Regions from separate parts of the Homo sapiens genome. Here region 1 is linked to region 2. Evidence: promoter capture Hi-C in human tissues and cell types (Jung and others, 2019). All regions are on one chromosome and are shown on one strand. The core of a region is centred on a gene start or on the middle of the fragment in contact, and the rest is flanking DNA. Distances in the headings are between cores, read along the strand shown.

Region 1 (5,243 bases), core at 2,112-4,611, 130 kb after region 2:
CACACGCAAACTGAGTTCATCCCCCACCTACCCCTTTCCTTCCTAGAAAGCCTTTGTACACAAAATGGTTGCTATAAAATATTGTAAAATGTGTACATTTTATTCTCCCCCATTTTTATCACCAACTAAAATTTGGCGGATTACTATGAAACTCTCAATTTGCAAAGCTGTTTGTCCCTACAGCAGTCTTTGATCACTATGTTGTGTTTTTTTTAAGTTTATGGTTCTACTTTTTCTGGTCTCTCGCTTCTTGATATCATACCTGTGTTTTCTAATCTAGATACTCCCCTCTGCACTTCTAATTTGACAGTCTAAGCTTCTGGGTACCTGAATATCAGAAAACCAAGCTTACATAAATTGCATATGAAATAAGGATTCCTAGTCTCTAAGAACTTGAGAGAAGGCATATGGCCTAAGAACCCAAGCTTTAGTGAATGACCAATGTGTCCATTTATGCCACCTCCTGGGTTATTGAGGCTATTCCAGATAGTCTTTTGGGTTGAGCACCCTGGTTCAGTGAATCCATTTGAGAGAAGCACAATTATAGGAAGAAGTGCAAAATTGAAAAAGGATCTGAAAAGTCATTGGGAGCCTGGGCAACAGGCTCTACAACAGGGTCTTTTGTAGAGACCCTATCTCTACAAAAAATAGAAAAATTAGCCAGGCATGGTGGCTTGTGTGCATGTAGTCTCAGCTACTCAGGAGGCTGTGGTGGGAGGATCACTTGAATCCAGGAATCCAAGTCTGCAGTAGGTCATGATTGCACCACCCTATGCTGTGCAAGAGAGCAAGACCCTGTCTCAAAAAAAAAAAAAAAAAAACAGTGGGCGCGGTGGCTCCGCCTATAATCCCAGCACTTTGGGAGGCCAAGGCATGTGGATCACCTGGGGTCAGGAGTTCGAGATCAGCCTGGCAAACATGGTGAAACCCCAAATCTACTAAAAATACAAAAATTAGCCAGGTGTGGTAGCGGACACCTGTAATCTCAGCTACTCAAGAGGCTGAGGCAGGAGAATTGCTAGAACCCGGGAGGCGGAGATTGCAATGAGCCAAGATTGCACCATTGCACTCCAGCCGAGGCGACAACAGCAAGACTCCATCTCAAAAAAAAAAGAAAAAAAAAAAAAGAAAGAAAAAAGAAAAAAAAATTGGTAGAGGGGGGAAGGAGTTGTCAGTGGGAAAGAGAAATGGGAGGAGGAGGAAGAGGAGAGATTTAATAGTTTGGGGAAAAGGACCAAAAAGCAGAGAAAATCTGAGAGGATCTCCTTTCTACCAATGCTAAAATAATTGTCAACTCTTTAAATAGTCCAACATTGGCAAAATCAGTGAGCTAAGTTATCTGAGAATGGGAGATGACCCACCAGGATCATATTGTCCTAGTTGGCAGCTTACAGTCATACTGCACTAAATTACAAGTCACCCCAGAGTCATTACGTGTATTTTCTAATCAGGATAGTATTTGGGACTGACAGGATTTATATTGTTTGCATTCCCAGAAGGCAGTCAAACTCCTCCCTCTGTTCCCTACAGAATGACAAGGTCCCATGAGGGTATATAAACACCTTCCCTTTTGCAAAGCAGCCATCTTCTCACCTATACATTAAGGCACCAAGGAAATGCGAAAGGCAGGGAGTTAATTTATTTCTCCTCGAAAGAAGAGTCAGCCACAAACGATACATAACTAACATTCCTTTGCCATTACTGTGGCTACTGGAACAGACGTTAGTTTAGTCAGTGCCCAAAGCAGTGGGCTTCATGTTTTGTTTCATTTTTTAAAAAAATAAAAAGCACTTGAATAAGTGACAACTGAAATATTACTGAGTTTCTTTTCAACACAACCCAGCATCAGGAAAACTGTTTCATTTGCAGGCTGAGGAAATATGAAAGAGCAATTTTATTTTACCTGCATTGCCCAAATTTATGGACTTAGAATACTTTATAGGTATCTATAAAGCTCAAGATTCTTGAGATTGTATATAAAAGGTGCAAACTCAGCCAAAGTAAATATCTACAAAATGCTCCTTATGATGGAGCTTGACCTGGCAGCCCCAGTTAGCTCCTACCTACTGGCCTTAAAATTTGTGAATGTACTGATCCCTAACAGATAAAAATGTTGAATGGCAATTTTGTATTTCATACATCCTCACTCTAAATAAAATTATGTCCATTTCTACTCTGTGCCTTTGATCACATTTCATTTTCCTTCTGGAATGCCCTCTCTTCTTTCACCTATCCAATTTCACTGTGGCCTTAAGGCCTAGCCCAGTGCTTTCTGGACCTGCCCCAGGATGACTCAGTGGCCTCTGCAAGCCTCCTAACTCCCTCTGCTCTGAGCTCAGGCACTGCACATTGCAGCACCTTTGAGAGTTTAACTGCATTTCACCAGTACGGCTCTCCAGGCAAGCCCTGAGAATCAGTCCTGACTTTGTAATTGGACTCTGACAACCTCTTTCAGGGTTAGAAGTTGATGTCTATCTTTCTATGCCTCCTACTGTTGAGCATGCATTAGAAACTCAATGGGAAATAAGTTCTTGGTTTATTGACACCCTATTACACAGTTTAATGACATTGCTTTAAGGAATTGATCATCATGGTTACCTCTGGTTGATCATGGATGATAGATTCATGGTTGATCATAGATGATAGATGCTCGGGTAGAGCATCTATCTTTTTGAGGCACCACCCAAATTCACCTTTCCAAGTTCGTAATCTAAAGCAACAGCCCATGGTATATTGTAGGTGGTGTTTACTTACCAATAATAGGTAACGGTGATGCCAACTAATACATGAGGGATGATCAATCAGACCAATTGAGCATATACATTAAATAAATGGCTACATTAACGGTAAGTAAACGAATCACTATATTTAGTAAAACAAAAAATGAAAATGAGACACCAGCCTTTCTCTTCCAGTGTCATAATATTTGAGCACTACTAAGTACCTTCTCTGTAATCCTATTTCAACACCCCACTTCCAAGAACTAAAGTACTCCAAGTACTAACAAGCTACATCTTGTCTGGATTATTCTCTGAAAACTGGTTTTGATTAACAAGCTCCATGCATTTTATGGAGAGAAAGGGAAGTGCTGAATGAATCCAAAATTTACTTTAATCACCTTCACCATCGTAAGTAACATGAAATGTCATGACTGGGTCAGGGTGACAAGAGTACCACAAGAGTACTTATCACCTTCTGTGATAAGAGCCTCAAAGCTTGAGTTTGTGGGAGTATGTCATCAATCTTCCCCTTAACTGCATATTAATGATGGCTTATCTCAGTCCTTCTGGTATTATTCATATAAGGCATAAAGTAATAAGATTTATAGCAAACTAGGATTTATACATCCATATGATTTCTGCTCCTTCAACGGATTTGCTTTGGAAAACCATATGCTTTCTCCAACAACGCTGTCACTATTCCAAATATATTCTGCACTCTTGCTTTGAAATGGTCATAACTTTAAAGCCACAATATTTGAACATCCTCAGTAGGGGATTAGGGGAATATCATCATCATTTGATTTCTAAAACCCCAAAAGCTGTAGGAACCAGTTCTGGTGAATGATGGATTATCAAGCTCAGAACTTTCATGAATGCTTTCATGAAAAGCAAAGCATGACTAAGAGATTATAAGATTTTCTTTTGGGGGCCTATAAACTGACTTTAGAAAGAGTCCCAAGGGAGGTGTTTCAGAATTGCTTTGGGCAATGGCTGTATCACTGGAGGTAGTCTCCAATCTCCAAAGCCACTAGTTTGGAGATAATTAGATTCATTTGGATGTGGGAATTCAGTTATGTTCACTACATGAACAGCCTCATTGCTTTATAGCCATGCTTTTTAGAAAGAGTTCCACAAAGGTTTAGGTACCTAATACTTTTTCTATACTGCCCCACTTTGGGTTAAGGAATCTACTATCTTCAGTGTCTTATCAATTTAATTGCCATCTCTAGCCCAAATTACCTCTCAGGTGGCCAGAATGAATCACAGTGTTTCATTATGTTACCCTCATTTATGGTTGATCAGCTTTGATCAAGGATATTAAATTTACCATTGGAAACTCCACTTGGGTTTCCCTTTTCTTGACACATGGATGGCAATCTTAAGGGCCTGAATTTCTCAAATGTGTAATCTGGGACCACCCACTAACACCATAGCTCTAGTCAGAGTTTGTACAGGGTTGTTCAAGAAATCAACTTCATTTACTTTGGCCAAGCATGGGCACATCACCAGGAACTTGGCTTGGACGTAGAAGGAAAGGGAGGATGGAAAGGGAAGTGCCATTTTTTGAAGGCTGGCCATGTGCCAGGATCTCTGCATGCCTTGTCTCATGTCATCACAGAACCAATCTGGGAAGCAGGAATTATCTCAATTTCACATACATAAAGAAAAAGAAGTCTTACATTCACCTGTCCATCATTGGAAAGATTTACAATGATTCTGAAGGACAGGCAGTGGAGTTTTAGGTTTCAGGGGCAAGAGCAGTTTTCAAAAGTCTTTGAGTCCAGTGTGCGCAAGTCAACAAGCAGTACCTGGTGTGCAGGAGCACTCGTGAGTGAGTCTGTCTCGGGTCTCGACAATTAGCAATTGTGTGACAGTCATTCTGTTTCCTTCTGCCTGACCCTGGGAGACATACCAGTAATGGATGTGCAAAAGCAGGTCTGTTTTATGTCTTAATATAATTTAAGATTAACTGTATTGAAAAAATGCTGAAGAATGAATGTGTCAAAATGGGTTAACTGTGTACATTGACTTTCATGTCATCATCCATCTGTCATGAATGAGTGATACTTTGCAATGGGCTGGTGTATGACAGTGAGGACCTTAGGGCATGAAGGCTTTTTGCCTGGTCCCAGCAGCATCTGCCCCATGAAGTTTGTTTTCTCTCACTGCCTCCAGGCCCCACTGATACCCCCAAATAGATGCTGGGTTATGAGAACCAGTGAAGTCCCCCATGTCGTCAGTCTTAAAAATAATTTTACAAGTCCACATATTTGTCCCATTCTTGGAGTAGTTTTAGTGTATGTCTTTAAATTAACTACTAACAGTATAAATAACTTGACATCATAAAAAGAAAAGGAAGGCTTAAAGAGGTTGTGCAACTTACTCAAAGCCCACATATTAGTAAGTAGAAGTTTAGGATTTGGATCATCTTTTCCTGCCTCCAAAGCCCAAGCTCTTTGCCATGAGGTTGATGCAGCCATTAACAGGAATGAGACCATGGAGGGGAATTGAGCAGCCACA
Region 2 (4,849 bases), core at 1,460-3,959:
GATCACAGAAGAGGCTTCATTTACCACTGTTATAGACTATGGACATCTTTGTCGTATTTAAACTCTCCCTGCGAATAACCATATCTCTGCAGCTCAACTTCAAGCTCACTTCTCAAGAATGTTTGGAGAACACCTCCCTACAGTGAGTGAGGCTGGCACAAAGCCCTCTAGGTAGAAGAGGCAGCCTGGAATGTATTTCCTCAGGCTGGAGGGAGAGCAGGGTAGAGGCATTTTAAGATCTAGAGATGGACTTCTTTCTAGAATCCTGGAAGAGAGGCAGAGGCACTGGGACACTCAAATATCTGAATTCCTCTCACTGCCTGTCTGCCCTGGAAAATACCATCTTTGTCCAGAGGAGCCTCTTGATCTTTCTCCCCTTCCCCATAACCTTGTTTCCCACAGAATATCCTCTCTCCTCCCACCCCTGGAAGAACTATGCCCTCATCTATCTTGGATAATGGTGTCTGTAACTTTGAAGAGCTCTATCAGGACACCCCCTGCTTCCTTCCGGGGTAATTTCCTAAACTATTTTGCCTGTAAAGCTCTCAACACATTCCTCTGTCACCTAAACTCTTAACAACTTGAGACGGCCCTGGGGGCATGACGGTGAGAGAAGATATTCTTAATGCTTCCCTGATTCATCTCACCCCTCCACCCGCTTTCCACATTCAAGCTCTTTCCTATTCCTTGCCAATCCCATAAACACTCTCTCCATCACATTGTCATATCCCTTTTCTTCTCTTACCAGCTCCCACCAGTGTTTCTGCTTTCCCTTACCCATCTGATTTCTATAGATTTCCTCACTGTCTTTCAAGTCATCGAGCTGCAGTGGGGTCAGCATGGGTTTTCAATCCTTTGAGGAGAAAGAAGACATGGAAGAGGAAGACTTGGATGGTTAGGGTATTTTAATCTCCCTCCAATTATTTTTTTCCTGAGAGCAATAATTCCCAAAGTATGGGTTTAATACATTTTATCTATGAAACAACAGTTTCATGGTCAAGTAAGTCTGGGAAACACAGTTCAGCAATTTTTTTCCTACAGAAATTCTCAAGGCTTTAATATGATACTAGGCATATATTAGTTATCTTTTATTATATTTAAAATTGCCCCCAAACTTAGAGACTTAAAACACTAATAAAAATTCGCTTATTTCTGTGGATCAGGAATCAGGGAATGGCTTAGCTGGGTAGTTCTTGTTTGGGATCTCTCATGAGGTTGCAGTCAAGATGTCAGACAGGGCTGCAGTCAGCTGAAGGCTTCACAGGATGTCAGGAACCTATGTCCAAGATGGGTCACTCACAATGTTGGCAAAGTGGTGTTGGCTGCCAGCAGGGGTCTCAGTTCCTTACCACACGGACCCCTCCTTGGGGCTGCTTGTGTGTTCTCACGACATGGCAGTGGGCTCTCCTACAGTGAGTGATCCAAGAGAGAAGGGAAAAACCACAACATCTCTCATGGCCTATCCTCAGAAGCCACACACCATCTTCTTAATTACTCACAGGTCAGTCTCACCCAAGGTGGAAGGGGTGTGAATTCCAGGAGGTGAGAAACACTGGGTTCATTTTGGAGGCAGGTCAGTGCTACGCATGACAAATCTTCAAGGCTGATTTGACAACATGATTATTGGTTAGTGGAGCATTCCAAGACACTAAGATTCCATGGTACACATGTTGGGGGAAACCACCATGGACTGTCACATTGGGGTATAAGGGTCTGGGAGGCACACAAGTGGAGGGGAATATGTGTGTCTGGAGGAAGAATCCTGGGAAAACAGTACATGCATATGCACTGAGGGCTCCCAGAGCGGAAGACAATAGGAAGCTAGAACTGGGGTACCACTCGGAACTGGGGCTCAGAGGCTGATTCTCCAATTTAGAGAGGCTAGCACGGAACTTCCCTGCCAATTCCAAACTGCTTGGAGCGTCTCTACTCTTGTAAGCTGTTTACTTCCTCCATCCTAAATCAAAGATAGAGAGAAAATGTCAAAGTTCACAGGCTGAAAAGAAGAACTATTATCATAGAATCCCTAAAAGATGGAGATGGTGGCCATCTAGAAGGCTCAGCTGTTCCATGCCGGGAGCAGCCCTAAGTACCACACTCTGTGGGGTTGTTTGTGATGGTTTCAGACCGGACCCCAACAGTCTCTTTTATGGTCCAGACAGACTAAGACCATGTAAGGTCACTCTGATGACTCATACCACAAAGGTCCCGTTTTTCCCCTACTTCATCTGCACAATGGTTTGTTTGCAAAGGTCCTAGCCTGGGGAGCCGGAGTCACCGTGGTTGGAGGAAACAAATTCTCATCCAATGTTTAGTGACCTTATCAAAAGATGCAGGATAGGGAAGGAAAAGAAGGAATAGAAGGACTACAGAGAATGGAGAGGCGGTCACGGAAAAAGAAAGGGAAAGTGCGTGGGAAGAAGGAAGGAGTAAGAAAACACGCACAGCTCACATGAGAATGGTAAGGACAAGGAAATTTATACGCGAAGCCTGGAAGCGCCCCCGCCCCCGACGCACTCCCGCGGGTCCCACGCGTGCTTTCGCCGCCTTTGTCCACAAGGTGGCAGCCTTTGAACTTTCTTCCCCGTAAGAACGCGAAAGGGGGGCAGAGAGGAAGGAGAGAAGGCAAAGCACTGCCCCCACCAAGAACAATTTGAAACCCCCCCCCCCCCCCATCATATTTAAAATCTGGGACAAAGAACCGTCGGGACGGAACTCCTTCCATTGCAAAAGCTCGGCGCGGCCTCGGGAGCTGCCCGGCGGCCCCGGACCGAGGCAGCCCTCCCCTTTAAAAGAAGCGGAGGACAGGATTGGGATCCTTGAAACCCGAAACCCAGAAACAGCATCGGAGCGGAAACCAGAGGGGAAACCTTGAACTCCTCCAGACAATTGCTTCCGGGGAGTTGCGAGGGAGCGAGGGGGAATAAAGGACCCGCGAGGAAGGGCCCGCGGATGGCGCGTCCCTGAGGGTCGTGGCGAGTTCGCGGAGCGTGGGAAGGAGCGGACCCTGCTCTCCCCGGGCTGCGGGCCATGGCCACGGCGGAGCGGAGAGCCCTCGGCATCGGCTTCCAGTGGCTCTCTTTGGCCACTCTGGTGCTCATCTGCGCCGGGCAAGGGGGACGCAGGGAGGATGGGGGTCCAGCCTGCTACGGCGGATTTGACCTGTACTTCATTTTGGACAAGTAAGTGCCGCGAGTTGTCCCCCCCACCCCAGGCTAAGCGGGCGAAAACGCTTTCGCCCCGGGCCGGGCTCGTTGGCAGGGTCGCCTGGGGACAGGAGCGCATCTCCAGGGCCACAGAGGGACCGCGCGGCAGGCGGCGGCGGAGTGCTGCGCCTTTGTTGGGGCGCGCTCCTCCCAGCCTCGGCTCCAGAGCCCGCAGCCGAGGCGACGCCGCTTGCTCGGAAGGGGACAGACTTCTTTTCTGTCTTGCTTTCTGTGTCCCAGGAGCAGGCAAGGGGCTTGGAGGATGCTATTGTCTTGCTGAGTTTCTGTGACTCCCTCCCGTGTTGGTGGGAAAGGCTTGCTTACCAAAGGCAGAACTTGCAGGCACAGGCACTCCTAAAGTTAGAGGCTTGGGCATTTTAAAGCCAATCGTCGCATTTTGTTTTTGTTTTTGTTTTTTTGTTTTGTTTTGAAACGCTGTCCCACGGAAGGCATTATCTTTGCTCCTAATCATGTAATGCATACTTCTCACCGGGCACTGAGTGAGAATGAAAGGCAGGGTTTCTTAACCTTGGCACTTCTGAGATTGAAACCTGGTAATTCTTTGTGGTGGGGGCTGTCCTGCGCGTTGTAGGATGTTTAGCAGCATCCTTGGCCTCTGCCCACTGGATGCCAGTAACATCCCCCGCCCCCCACTCCTTCCTTATTAGTGGTGACAACTAAAAATGCCTCCAGACATTGCCAAATGTCCCTCCCCTTCGACTTGAGTACCCCAGATGTAGTGAATTCAAGCTCTTGGCCATTTGACTGGTGGGCTACCAGGGAGGTGCAGGAGCCCTGGTTTCCTTGCAAAAAGTGGTTAGGCTTTAGGATTTGCTCAAGGGAGAGCTGAATTCTGACCAATGAAGCACTTCCCAAATCCGCATAAGTTTGCCAAGCCACAGTCACCCAAGGAAGCTTCATGCTATCTGCTGAAAACCAGCTTCAACGATAAAAAGCCCCTCACAGAAGATCCGTGCTCATTAAAACTGAGTGAGCTCTCCAGTGCCAGGAGAGGCGCTTTGCTGTTACAGTGGTGGGGAGATGGATTTCACAGACTGGAAAGTATTTAGGAGTTGGAAAAAGAGTCCTGCAAAATAAGCTGGCTAGCTAGACACCAAATGTGCTTTGCAGTTGCCCCTGGAGTTTGATTTTTCCGTAAAGGCTGTTTTGAACTCCAGATTCTTTGGATGAAAAGTGAGATTTCTTTTCTGCAGATTTATGAGAAGGTGGATACTGAAAATATGCTCCAGTGCTAAGGAATGGAATTTCTTTTGTTACTTCTAGTGGCTGGAAGCATCAGCTCACAGACTTAGAGACAGTGCATGAAAACAGTCGGAGGTGCTCCTCCTCCGTGCTTTTTTAAAAAGCCAATTCAGAATGATATTCAGGAAAATCTAAAAAAAAAAAAAAAGGGGGACAGAATCACCATGTCTCTGAATGGATGACTGTAGAGATACTATAGAGATATGGATACTGTAGAGATAACCAGTTTTCCCCAAATTAATTTAGAAATTGAATTCAACTTTTCAGTCAAAGTTCTGAAAGAGTTTGTTTTGATGATAAGAATTTAACAAAATGATTCTAGGCTTATCTTAGCAAAAAAAAAAAAAACAGGTAAAAAGAGCTGAAACATTTTTGGAAAA

What was found. Contacts are between HindIII fragments. The study calls those that stand out against the background at their distance.
Region 1: a contact is called between a fragment that was not itself captured here and the fragment with the promoter of ANTXR1 in region 2, in 2 of the 25 tissues and cell types used here (H1 embryonic stem cells and aorta).

Annotation. Positions count from the first base shown.
Region 1 is chr2:69,136,982-69,142,224 of GRCh38, forward strand. The region is part of intron 12 of ANTXR1 (ANTXR cell adhesion molecule 1); the gene reads left to right. Among named protein-coding and RNA genes, the nearest start is that of MIR3126, 36 kb to the left of the region's middle. The HindIII fragment of the contact is 8,828 bases long and covers 1-5,243 here.
Region 2 is chr2:69,010,470-69,015,318 of GRCh38, forward strand. It overlaps ANTXR1 (ANTXR cell adhesion molecule 1), which reads left to right and starts at 2,710. Exons shown (of 18, transcript NM_032208.3): 1 at 2,710-3,182. The coding sequence starts at 3,031. The HindIII fragment of the contact is 10,036 bases long and covers 1-4,849 here.